Linked DNA regions of Homo sapiens: region 1 is linked to region 2. Evidence: promoter capture Hi-C in human tissues and cell types (Jung and others, 2019). All regions are on one chromosome and are shown on one strand. Each heading gives the region's core, a stretch centred on a gene start or on the middle of the fragment in contact. The rest is flanking DNA. Distances are from core to core; before and after follow the strand shown.

Region 1 (6,588 bases), core at 879-3,378, 320 kb before region 2:
ATAGTATGTGACACCTGTGACTGGCCTGTCCCTCTGACTAAACCCATCCCCAGATGGCAAGGGAAAGGTCTAATGCATGGAAATGTAAGTCACTTATGAAAGACCACATGAAAGAAGTGTGAAGCATGAAGCTACAGAACAATAGGTATAACATGAGCACTGTTTAAAGAGCACTTGTGTCTAGAAAGATGCGACCTGACTTTGACCTGTGGTTACATCTGGAGAGAGGCATAGGCTTGATGAGGCAAGAATGGCATGAGACTTCTTTTTCATTCTGGTGTTACCTTTTAACATGAGCATGTGTTCATGAATTTATTGTATATAAAAATATTTTAGAAATTAAATAGCGGCATATTTCAGATTCTGTAATGTTTCCCCATTTTCTGTTTGAACAAACAGTTGTTTTGTATGTGTCTGCAGTGTCCAACAGGGCCAAGTTTGAGATCTTTCCAAGAAGACCACTTAGTTTTAAAGACTAAGACTTTCTGAGACTTCTGCCAAAAGCTAAAATTGGTATCCCAAGGTGCCAAGTTCTGATGGTCACTCTCTTTTAAAGGGATCCATGTGGGGTAGAACAGGCAGATGAACCCGAGTCTCTAGTTAGTGAGGACTGCATGGAGCCAACAACTGTCAGAGCTTGAGGATGCCACACAGAGCTGGAAAGACTGGGCATCCACCCCTCCCAGAGGAGGGAAGGGGATCCATGGCCATCACTTTCTATGGTAAATGTTACTGACCAGCCAGCAATCAGCAGATGTCAACAGGCTTGAGTCAAGCCAATTGCTCTAATTAAAACATCACTAAATGCAGAAACACTGACTCAACTCAGCCAACATTTGCCTTTAACACATGGTGCAAAGAAGCAAGGGGATGCCCAGAGAAAGCCATTTGCTTTCTGAGCACCTTCTACACGCAAGTGCTCAGAAAATCCCATGAGCAGTCACGGGAGACAAAGCTGAAAAGATACAGGGCAACGACGACACTACCAACATGAAATTTCTAATAAATATGTTAAGGACAAGAAACAGGCATGGAGAAAATATTCCTCATGCATACAACAAAGGTTGATTATCAAATGCACATTTAAAAATCTCCCTCAAATGAATAAGAAAAAGGCAAGCAATGCAATAGAAAAGTGAGCAAAGGATAAGAACAAGTAATTCACAGAAAAGGGCATTCAATCAAACAGCCTGCAAATACATGAAAAAATGTCCCAAATCACCGTAAGATTAGGAAAAGGTTGATGTTGTTCTTGCACTCTATTTATAGGAGCACAAATTTTTAAAGTAGTTTTGTGAAAAAATTTGGGCATAAGTAAGAAACTTTAAATTGTATATACCATTCCACTCTGCTGCGATCAACCCTAGGGAAAAATACATATACCTATGTAAAAAAGTGCGAAACGCATTTTCATTGCAACATTGTTTGTTACTGTGAAAATCTAGAAATAACCTAATGATCCAATTACAGATAAATTGCTAAGCAAATTATAAAGCATCCACACTAGGAGATACAATAAAATGGCGATACATCATTGTATAGTCACATTAAAAGATCTCTAAGATATTCTGTAAGCATTAAAAGGGTATTGAGGAATTATATTTATAAATTATTTCTAGATACTTATATTTAAGTACACAGACACTAATCAGGAAAAATATAATCCAAACTGCAAATAGTAATAACAAAATTTGTTCTTTTCAAACTGTTTTCCCCAATATAATTGGTACAAATATGGTTTAACAGAGCACATGGAAAAAGAAATTAGAAATATTTGCTGATCATAAAAGCTTAAGATCAATATGCAATTATCACAAAAGCTAAAACAATGTAAGTTACACTAACAAAATAAGTCCTTAGAATTTTAAAATGATAGTGGCTGGTGACCTCTGAGAATATCTCAATTTGCAAATTCCATCCCTCTTCATTCTACATCACTTCTCTTACAGCATTTGTGAAGTTTACTTATTCTACTTTTCTATAAATTACTGAAAATACAATGATAATAGGTCCCAGTGTGATTCGGGATTTTTCTATATATCACTTTACTTAGATAATTTGTTGCTTTATGTAGTTTGTAGCTCTTTTACTACGTGCCTACAAATATGGGAACTGTGTTATCTTCCTGACAAACTGACTAATATGAAGTACACTTCTTTATTTCTGTTACTTCTTCTCTGTTTTGATGTCTATTTTGTCTACTATTTATATATAACCACATCAGTTTTCTTAAGCTTGCTATCAACTGGCTGTGTCCTCACCCAAATTTCATCTTGAATTGTAATTCGAATTGTAGTCTCTACATGTTGGGGGAGGAGCCTTGTAGGAGGTGATTGGATCAGCAGGGTGGTTTCCCCCATGCTGTTCTCCTGATAGTGAGTGAGTTCTCATGAGATCTGATGGTTTTATAAGGGGCTCTTTCCCCTTCACTCTGCGCTTCTCTCCCCTTCCACCTTGTGAAGAAGGACATGTTTTCTTCCACTTCTGTCATGACTGTAAGTTTCCTGAGGCCTCCCCAGCCATATAGAACTGTGAGTTGATTAAACTTCTTTTCCTTATAAATTACCCAGTCTCAGGTATTTCGTTATAGCAGTGTGAAAACAGACTAATACAATCATCTTCCATCCTGTTGCCTTAATTCTGTGTCTTTAAACTGTTTCTCTCACGAATGGCATACTGGTTAGTCTCACATTTTATCCAATCTGACAAAATGAAGTATTTTATTTATTTATATTTCATGCAGCTTGTGGTAAAATTATGTTTAAGTTCATCATTTGGGTATTTGTTTTCCATTAATTTCATTTACTCCGTTTATTCCAACTGTTCCTTTGTTCCTTTTTTCCTCCATTATTTTGGAAAAAATGGGTATTTTTTAGCATTCCAATTTCTCTCCTTTATTTGACTATTTAGTTATATCATTTCATGCTATAATTTTAGTAATCCTCTAGAGCAATGCTGCCTAATTACAATGTGACCCACATATATATATTTACAGAATATCTAAACTTCCTAGCAAAGTTTAAAAAACAGATGATATTAATTTGATAATGTATTTCATTTAACCCAATATACCCAAAATATTATCATTTCAATATGTAACAAATATAAAAGTATTAATGAGATATTTTGTCTTCTAAAAGTACATTTACATTGTCTTTGCAATTTGACATAAATTTTATACCTACAGCATATCACAACAGTTAAAGTTAAAGATAGGCCTACCAGAGCAACCACATTGTGTTTCAACAGAGGATAGTTACACTGTGTCAGTTTTTAACATAAATTTAAATTAATTAAAATTATAAATGTACTTCCTCAGTATCACCAGCCACATTTCAAGGGCTTAATTGCCACAGATGGCCAGTAGATACTCTATTAAGCAGTACACTCTAATATGTAAGGTTAACTTATCACGGTCTAACTTAAAATAATACTATGGCATTTCATGCACAATGGGGCACTCTTACGATAGCATAATTTATCCGTTTTCATCCTTTGTGCTATTTTCACATATCCTTTTCTTCCACTTACATTAGAGATTCTACATAATTATTATTTTTGCATTAAACATCCAGTAGTCTTTTATAGTTTAACTATATGATGGATATGCATTAAAAAAATAATTTCTAAAATTAGATTTTTGGCTTGCCTAAATAGTTATGCTTTCTCAGGGTCTTCAGTTTTTATTGTAGACCTGGGTTCCCTTCTGTTATCATTTCCCCTTAGCTTGAAGAACATCTTTCAGCATTTCCTGCAGTGCAAATATGCTGGCAAAACATTCTTTCAACTCTTCCTCATTTAAAAATGTCTTTAATTTGACTTCATTATTAAGTATATTAATGCTGGATGCAGAATTCTATGTTGAGATTTTTTTATTTTCTTTCAATTCTTTAAAAAGTAAAAAAAAAAAAAAAATTCAATGGAGACTAAAGATATTCCATTGTCTTTGGTCTCCATTGTATCCAATGAGAAGTCAGTTTCCATTCTTATATTGTTCCCCTGTGTATCCAATGTGCATTGATTTCTCCTCTAGCTGATTTTAACATTTTCTCCTTAGCTTTTCTTTTTGTCAACTTGACTATAATGTAGTTTTGTTTCAGGTTTTGTTTTTTTCTTTTTATCCTACTTGGGGCTCTCTGAGCTTTTCTTATAGCAATGGGTTACTATTTTTGATCCAATTTTGAAAATTTCAGTCCATATTTTTTCACATATTTATCTGTCATTCTCTCCAACAGACACTCTGAAAAAAAGTTTGCTTCACCATTTAACACTGCCTTTGAAGTTCTGTTAAACTTTCATTTTTCTTTTTTCCTTCTGTTGCTTCAGTTTGAAGCTCTATAGACCTGTCTTCAAGTCTTGGTGCTGCTAGATCTCTTCTGCCAAACAGTTAGCCAACTTGTCAATGCAAAGGAATAGTTCTTGGAGAATAATAAAAGTGCTGCTTCAGTGAACACATAAATGATAAGAAAGCTAAACATTTTTATTGCTGATATACAGAAAGTTGGAGTAGTCTGGATAGAAGCTCCAGGAAGCTACAACACTCCCTTAAGCCAAAGCCTCATCCAGAGCAAGCCTTACCTCTTCAATTCTGTGAAGGCTGAGAGAGGTGAGGAATCTACAGAAGAAAAGCTTAAAGCTAGCAGAGGTTGGTTCATGAGGATTAAGGAAAGACACTCAGTCTCCATGATATAAAAGTGCAAGGTAAAGCAGAAAGTGCTGATGCAGAGGCTGCAGCAAGTCATCCAGAAGATCTAGCTAAGATAACTGATGACAGTGGCACTGAACAACACATTTTCCAAGTAGACAAAACAACTATTAGAAGAAGATGCCATCTAGGACTTTTATAGCTAAGGAGAAGTCAATGCCTGGCTGCAAAGCTTCAAAGTATAGGCTGACTCTCTTGTTAGAGACTAATGCGGCTGGTGACTTTAAGTTGAAGTCAATTTTATGGATCATTCTGAAAATCCTAGAACCCTTAAGAATTATGCTAACTCTATTCTGTCTGTGCTCTATAACGGAATAACAAAGCCTGAAAGATAGCACATCTGTTTATATCACAGTTTACTGAGTATTTTAAGCCCACTGTTAAGGCCTACTGCTTGGAAAAATAGATTTCCTGCAAAACATTACTGCTCATTTACAATGCATCTAGTTACCCATCAGTTCTGATGAGGATGTATACGGAGATTAATATTGTTCTCAGGTCTGCTAACACAACATCTATTCTACAGCCATCAAGGAGTAATACTTCAAGTCTTATTATTTAAGAAATATGTTGTAGAAGGCTATAGCTGTCATACATAGTGATTCCTCTGACAGATTTGAACAAAGCAAACTGAAAACCTTCTGGAATGGATTCACCATTCTAGTTGCCATTAAGAACATCCATTGTTCATGGAAGGAGGTCAAAATAACAACATTAACAAGAGTTTGAAAGAAGTTGATTCTGGTGTCATGGCTCACACCTGTAATTCCAACACTTTGGGAGGCCGAGGCAGGCAGATCACTTGAGGTCAGGAGTTCGAGACCAGCCTGGCCAACATGGTAAAACGCCGTCTCTACTAAAAATACAAAAATTAGCTGAGTGTGGTGGCATGTGCCTGTAGTCCCAGCTACTCAGGAGGCAGAGGCAGGAGGATCACCTGAACTCAGGAGGCAGAGGTTGCAGTTAGCTGAGATCAGGCCACTGCACTTCAGCCTGGGCAACAGAGCAAGACCCTGTCTCAAAAAGAAAGAAAGGAGAGAAAGGAAAGAAAAGAGAGAAAGAGAAAGAGAGAAAGAAAAAGAAAGAAAGAAAGAAAGAAAAGAAAGAAAGAAAGAAAGAAAGAAAGAAAGAAAGAAAGAAAGAAGAAAGCAAGAAAGCAAGAAAGCAAGAAAGCAAGAAAGCAAGAAAGCAAGAAAGCAAGAAAGCAAGAAAGCAAGAAAGCAAGAAAGAAAGAAAGAAAGAAAGAAAGAAAGAAAGAAAGTTGATTCCAACCCTCATAGATGATGTTAAAAGGTTTAAGACTTCAGTGGAGGAAAGAACCGCAGATGTGGTAGAAATAGTAAGAGAATTAGAAGTGGAGCCTCCACCAGGCACGGAGGCTTACGCCTGTAATCCTAGCACTTAGGAAGGCTGAGGCAGGTGGATCACCTGAGGTCAGCAGTTCAAGACCAGCCTGGCCAACATGGTGAAACCCCATCTCCACTAAAAATACAGAAATACAAAAAAAAAAAAAAAAAAAAAAGCTGGGTGTGGTGGTGGGCACCTGTAATCCCAGCTACTTGGGAGGCTGAGGCAGGGGAATCACTTGAACCTGGGAGGCAGAGGTTGCAGTGAGCCTAGATTGTGCCACTGCACTCCAGCCTGGGGAACAAGAGCAAAACTCTGTCTTTAAAAAAAAAAAAAAGTGAAGACTGAAGACATGACTGAATTACTGCAATTTCATGATAAAACTTAACAGTTGAGGAGTTGCTTTCTATGAATGAGCAAAGACTGGTTTCTTGAGGTGGAATCTAATCCTGGTGAAGATACTGTGAACACTGTCAAGATGACAACAAAGGATTTAGAATATTACATAAACTTAGCTGTTAAAGCTGTGGCATTAC
Region 2 (6,092 bases), core at 299-2,798:
TATCAGACATTCTTGCAGATAAACATCCCATTGACTGAATTTTCTCCCTCTAAACTTTCAAAAATTAATTTAAAGAAGCTTCTTTTCTGTGGCTTGTCTAACCCCAACAAGCACCAATTTGCATTTTGTTTCAAGAAAGCATTTTACTTTAACCCAAAAACAAAGTCTGTTTCTCTGCAAATTGTCAAGCCCCAGATTTTCTCCCAACCACATCCCCATGCCATTCTTGCCTTCACCCTGAGGATCATGGTCAGAGGGGTGATGATCTCCCCCAAATGATTCCACAGCTGATTTTTTTTTTATTTGGTAGGGCTTTCTGGGTTAGGATAACGCTGGATAATCCTAATTACAGCCCTATCCAAGCTTAAACTCCATAACCAAGCAAAAATTTTACAACTCAAAGAAATTTAATTTGGCCTCACACTTGCAATGGGGAAACACACACACACACACACACACACACACACACACACACACACAAACAAGGGAAAAACTGGCAGCTCAGCTAACAGGCAACTGAATGTTGGACACGATGCCAAGTTGGTCCAATTAAGAAACATTAGAGGTCTAATGAGGAACAGTTCAGACAGGACACAAGGTTCTTGACAGCAGCCAAGCAAACTGCAAAGTCTCCAGCCCAGGTAAGTGAATCCCTTCAATATTTCAAAACAGCAAGGGACAAGTAGAACTTGGCTTGTAAGCGTTCTTGCATACCTAGGGAAGAAGAGTCCAGGTGGAGAACCTGGCCAAACAATGATGTCAGAACAAAAGTCCATTTAAGCCTAAAAAACAATCTATGGGACATTCCTGGGTACAATAGAACACATGAAATATTGCCATTTTGCCTATTAATATTTATTCCTGGGAAATTTTAACAAAATCATTGTCTGGGTGCACTTCATCCTCTCCTTCCCTCCCACTACCAGCCCCTTCAAATGCACCTCCTGGAAAAAACGGAACGAAAACAGTGTCATGAAAAATACTTGGGTGAGGGCTTTCATTTACTCCATGCCAAGTATTTTATTTTTAAGCCAGATTTGACAAAGTCCTGCTAAGGCAAAGCAAGTTTCAGATCATACCCTCAGTGAAAATTGTAGCACCGTCTGCTTACCTGTCACCAGGACTGCCTTCTGATCCACAGGTAACAATTCTTGGCCAGATAAGTAAGTATACATGAGGAAGCATGACACCGAGAAGAGGATCAAGCCCCAAAAAGGGGACAGGATGAGCAGGCAGACTGCACAGAGGCCTGCCAGGCAGACCATCCAGCTCCACAGCTGCCCTGAGCTCTTCTTGTATTTGCAAAATACTGTCCCACATAGTACTGTGGGGACAGCCAGGCAGATCCATGCTGTGTCCGAGAAGAAAGTGCTCATTCTCAGTGACTTGCTGCACCTTCAAGTGCTCAGGGCCAGTGAGTCTAGCGGGCAAAGGCTGGCTGGAGGCAGCCTGAGTTCTGTGAACAGAGAGTCAAGAAGGGAGGGGAGAAAGCAGCCCCAGCCCCTTTCAACTGAGCATAGATTAAGCATAATCATATTCCCAGTGGGTAATTTAAACCAGTGTGCACTTCAACATAAATACCAAGGCACTTCCTATTTGACCGCTCTCGCCCCTCCCCACCCCCTGCATACACAACACATGCACATACTCACCCACAAACACACACCTTCTATTTTTTTTTAATGACAGTCCACCTCTGGAGCGATGACTAACTGGATAATAATTGACAGAATTTGAACTGCATGGAGAATAACAGGAAGATCCTCTAGCTCACAGGAAAATACTGTCTTCTTCAAGAGCCTGCAGTATGTCTGGGTGCTGAGTCCTTTTTCTGACTCGGGAGTGAGTGAGAGTGTGTGTGTGTGTGTGCGTGTGTGTGCATGCATGCATATAAATATAGGCAATCGATGAAGTTTGGAAAATAGATTCTGGAAGGGAAGGCACCTCTGATCTGGTCCATAGCTTCAGGACTCCTACAAATCCCAACTGAGGCAGGCTGAAGGGTTGGATGGAGAGGGATATGAAAGTAGAGGAAGATATTCCTTGGTAGAGGAAAGTGCTTTGGTCTTGCCTGAGTGGAAACATGCCAGGGAGAGATAATAATGACAATTAACTAATAGCGGCTAATATCTATTGGTAGTTTTTTGTGGCAGAGGCTGTGTATAGCTGCTTATTTGTTCTTTCTCTTTATTGTAAGCCTATTCTATGCCAGCCTCCATTCACTGGGACTCCTCTCATCCTCCTTGAATACAATATCCTTATGAAGTTGATTCTAGTATTATAGTAATTTTACAGGTGAGGAAACCAGGACACAGAGAGGGTAAGAGACTTAGTCAAGATCACACAGCAGTGGAGTCTTGCAGCCTGATCTCAGAGCTGTATGCCCCTAAGCATTCTATTCCACTGCCTGCTTTAGGCAAAAAAAAAAAAAAAAATTAGTGCATTATGTGCTAGATCTTTCCTACTTTCACCCCATTTCAACCTTATAAAACTGTTTGAGGTGGGTGTTATTATTATGGTCAGTTTACAGAGAGAAAAACTGAGGCTGGGAAAAAATAAATCCCTTACTCACAAGCGGCTTAAAAGCCAGCACTCTGCAACTACAGCACCACCTAACCGTGCTAAGCCAGAGAGGGGTCACCGCACCTGGGCTCAGGGCGTGCCCCATGTGGGCCACATGCCTGGCTGGAGGGAGGCAAGGTTGTGATAAAGGCTGGACTTTGGCATAGCTAGAGAGAAACATTCTCTATTTGAGGTCAGTTTCCCTCTATTCAAATCTAATCTTAACTCCACTACTTATTAATTACATAGTCTTGGGAGGGTCACTTCACCTCCCTAGATCTTCATCCCTTTGGCTATAAAATAATATCATATCCTGCCTGGAACAGTAGAAGGAACCTCATAAATGCTAGTGATTCATGTTTTTTAAACAGGAGGAGAATGAAGAATAAGAGGAAGTCGTGTAAAACAAAGTGTCCAGTGGAGTATAGACTTGTCTCAAAACACGTGCTGGAGTTAAATGAGGGGCAGGAGGAGGAAGGGAGAGGATGCCTTTTGTGGATGATGTTGGGGAGGCAGGACTCGGGAAGGAAGGGACCCAGCAGCGTATCCCCTGTAAAGGGAGGTGAGGCAGAGCCCACCTGGGCTCAAAGCCAACTCAAGACCCAAGGGAGAAGGGGTGGGAAGCAGTGTCTTGTGAACCATTACTGTGCTGTGGGACTGTGGGGTTGGACAACAAGGCAGTTATGAGGGTCTGCGTGGAGTGATGGCAACTGTTGTCTGCCCTCCCAGCCACATGGACATTTGAGTCAGGGAGACGTTACCAGCTCCAGGCCAGGAAGCTTAGGGGCAGGGATCTGGAATTGCCTTTGGCTAGCCCTGAACTCTCCCTCCCTCAACAGACCCCAATTCCTTCCTGGGTGCCATCTGAGCCACAGGGCACCTCTCACAATCCTTGTGGCCTCACCAGCCCAGAGCATCCTGGCAGTTAGCTCCGTTCGAAAAACAGCTTCCAGGTGGGGAGACAGGACTAGCTATGGCTCTTCGCTGAGAGTCTTGGCATTTGGTCAGTGGCTCCCACATTTGGGCTGAGCCAAACACCTGCGCAGGCTTCCTGCCAAGTGCACGCCCACTTGAGAGAGGTGGCTTTTCTCCTGGAGGCAGCCCTTGCGAGTTCCCAGACCTACTCTGTCCTGGGGCTCCCAAGGGGAGGGTAAAATCTATGAGCAAAAGCCACCCTCAGGCCACACAGAAGTCCCATGAAGGATACTCCCTGAGCCCTGATGGTGAAGGGGCTGAACAGTATTAAGAACATGAGCTTTCGGGTCTCACAGACTTCTAAATTGAGTTCGAATCCTGGCTTAGCTGTGAGGCACTGGGCAAGTTACCTGCCCTTCCTAAGCCTCAGTTTCCTCTTCTGTAAATTGGCGGTAGGAGGAGTCTTTCTTCCAAGGGCTGTTTTGAAAAGTGAATGACACCATTCTTGCATCGTCCCTGGCACTTACAGGCACTCATGGATGGTAGGCACTTTTCTCATTGTTGAGAGTACCCACTGCCTCTTAGCCTTTTTCCTCTGAGCAGAGAGAGAGGTTCTTGACAGCTACCTCCTCACTCATTTATTTCTTCTTTCAGTTCAGCACTCGGCTGTTTCCTTTGTCATCCTTCAGATATCTGCTTAAACATCACCTCCTGTCACCCAATCTGAGTATCTCCTATCAGCACGCTTTATTCATTGCCTTTGTTGCGCTTAGCTCAATCCACAATTATATATTTACTTTGATCAGTTTAAGAACGTTTTCTGTCTCCCCTACTAGACCATAAACTTCATGAGGGCAGGAACCTTATCTGTTTATTGTTTTTCCTTTACTGTTCACCACGTGCACAGTCCAGTGCCTGGCACATCACATGTACATAATTAATATTTGTTGGAAAAATATAGGAAGAATCACATCTCTATTGAGAGTCTTCTAGGTGGCCAGTTCTGCACCAGCCATGGAGGAATTCAGTAGTGAACAATATAGACCCGGTTCCTGGCCTTGCAGAGTTGAGGACGCAGTGCTTCCAGGAGGCCTGCTGCAGGAGCAGAGACTAGTGGGGGTGCACGGTGGTGGAAAGGAAGGCTATTTACCAGTTGGGGAATATATGGAATTGCAGAATCCCCAGGTGAGAACTAGCCCAATCCTTTCTAAGCCCTGAATGTCCTCATCCCAACCTCAGGGTCAGTCCATCTCAGAGCTACCGCTGAATGAAGATTTCCTGCATCCTATTGAGCTAAATCGTGTCCCTTGTTTGTCCCCACCATTTTGTCGTGAAGCTATTCTCGAGGCCATCATGGCTTGGCCAGTGTCCCCTTGCTTGCAGGCTTGCTCTCAGCCTTCCAGGGAAAAGGAGCCAATTGGACCAACTCATTCTTGCTAATGACGCCAGTGGGTCAATGTGTCATTTCCTCCTGCCAGCAGAGGGGCCTTTTGGAAAATGCCATCTGAAAACAAAACATCCTACCCAAAAGAAAGGATTGCCGCCCCCCCAAAAAAAATTGCTGGGCAAAAAATGCTGGGGAAAAAAAAATGCTGAGAATCCTCCAATGTACACTTTCTTAGAATTGGTGGATGTTGAGTTTAGAAGAGAACTTGAAGAAGGAACTTCCCATCTAAAATGGGAATTCCCTCTGTAACATCCCCACCAAGTGGTCATCTTGTCTATTGCCAGAACATCTCTGAGAACAGGCACTTCACTTCCTCTGAAGGCTGATTTTCCCATTCAAGATGGCTCGGGATATTAGAACATTCTCCTCTAGGTCAAATTCATCTTGACGTTTGTCTTCCCACTCCACGTGGAGTCAGAGGATGTCTTGTTCTATTTCTTTCAGATATTTGAAAGATATTTCAGAGCTCAAACATTTTTAAAATCACATTGTTACAATAATTGAAGAACATTTTCCTATGATGAGGGTAACATAATGACGGCATGATTTGCCAAGCAGAGAATGACTGTGTGTTGATGTCATAGTGACCCAAAGTTCAGGACATGGACAGGGTGGTACCAGCCATAACAGATCATCTCAGGGACATCACAGAGATCTTGTTGGTAATACGAGTTTTTTGTTCGTTTGTTGCTTTTTGAGCATTAGGGTGATAACTAATGTTTGGAGTGTTTGTGATTGCGCAAATATCATGTATTACATATTTATCTATTTTATACAGTGGGCAGGAGTGGGGAGACTAGGAGAAGATAGCCAGAACTTGGGGCTGGACCATGCCTTTTTTCTATCTTTGAAATAATACGTGGTAAAGATGTCTAAACTCCTCAATTATCATAAATTCCAAGTAAGTCAGATCTCATTTTTTTTTTTTTTTGTATAGGGTTTCAGGGATCTGCAGCCACTTCTCAGAATGGCATCCAATTACTTACATCTCCCCTGAAAGATTAGGCCCAGAACTGGGCACAATATTTTCAGTACAGTGCAAAGAACATAGAATAGAGTAAGATTATCACCTCCCCTATCCTTGAAGCTTTATTTTTGCTTATGTGTCCAAAGACTTATTTGCTCTTTTAACAAAAGTGCCCTATTCTTGACTACCACGGTGTTTGTT

The links. Contacts are between HindIII fragments. The study calls those that stand out against the background at their distance.
Region 1: a fragment that was not itself captured here is called in contact with the fragment with the promoter of HSD17B2 in region 2 in 1 of the 25 tissues and cell types used here (spleen).

What each region holds. Positions count from the first base shown.
Region 1 is chr16:82,351,649-82,358,236 of GRCh38, reverse strand. No RefSeq gene overlaps it. Among named protein-coding and RNA genes, the nearest start is that of MPHOSPH6, 180 kb to the right of the region's middle. The HindIII fragment of the contact is 5,251 bases long and covers 1-4,753 here.
Region 2 is chr16:82,030,709-82,036,800 of GRCh38, reverse strand. HSD17B2 (hydroxysteroid 17-beta dehydrogenase 2) reads right to left here and starts at 1,548. Exons shown (of 5, transcript NM_002153.3): 1 at 1,112-1,548. The coding sequence starts at 1,376. The HindIII fragment of the contact is 4,836 bases long and covers 1-4,676 here.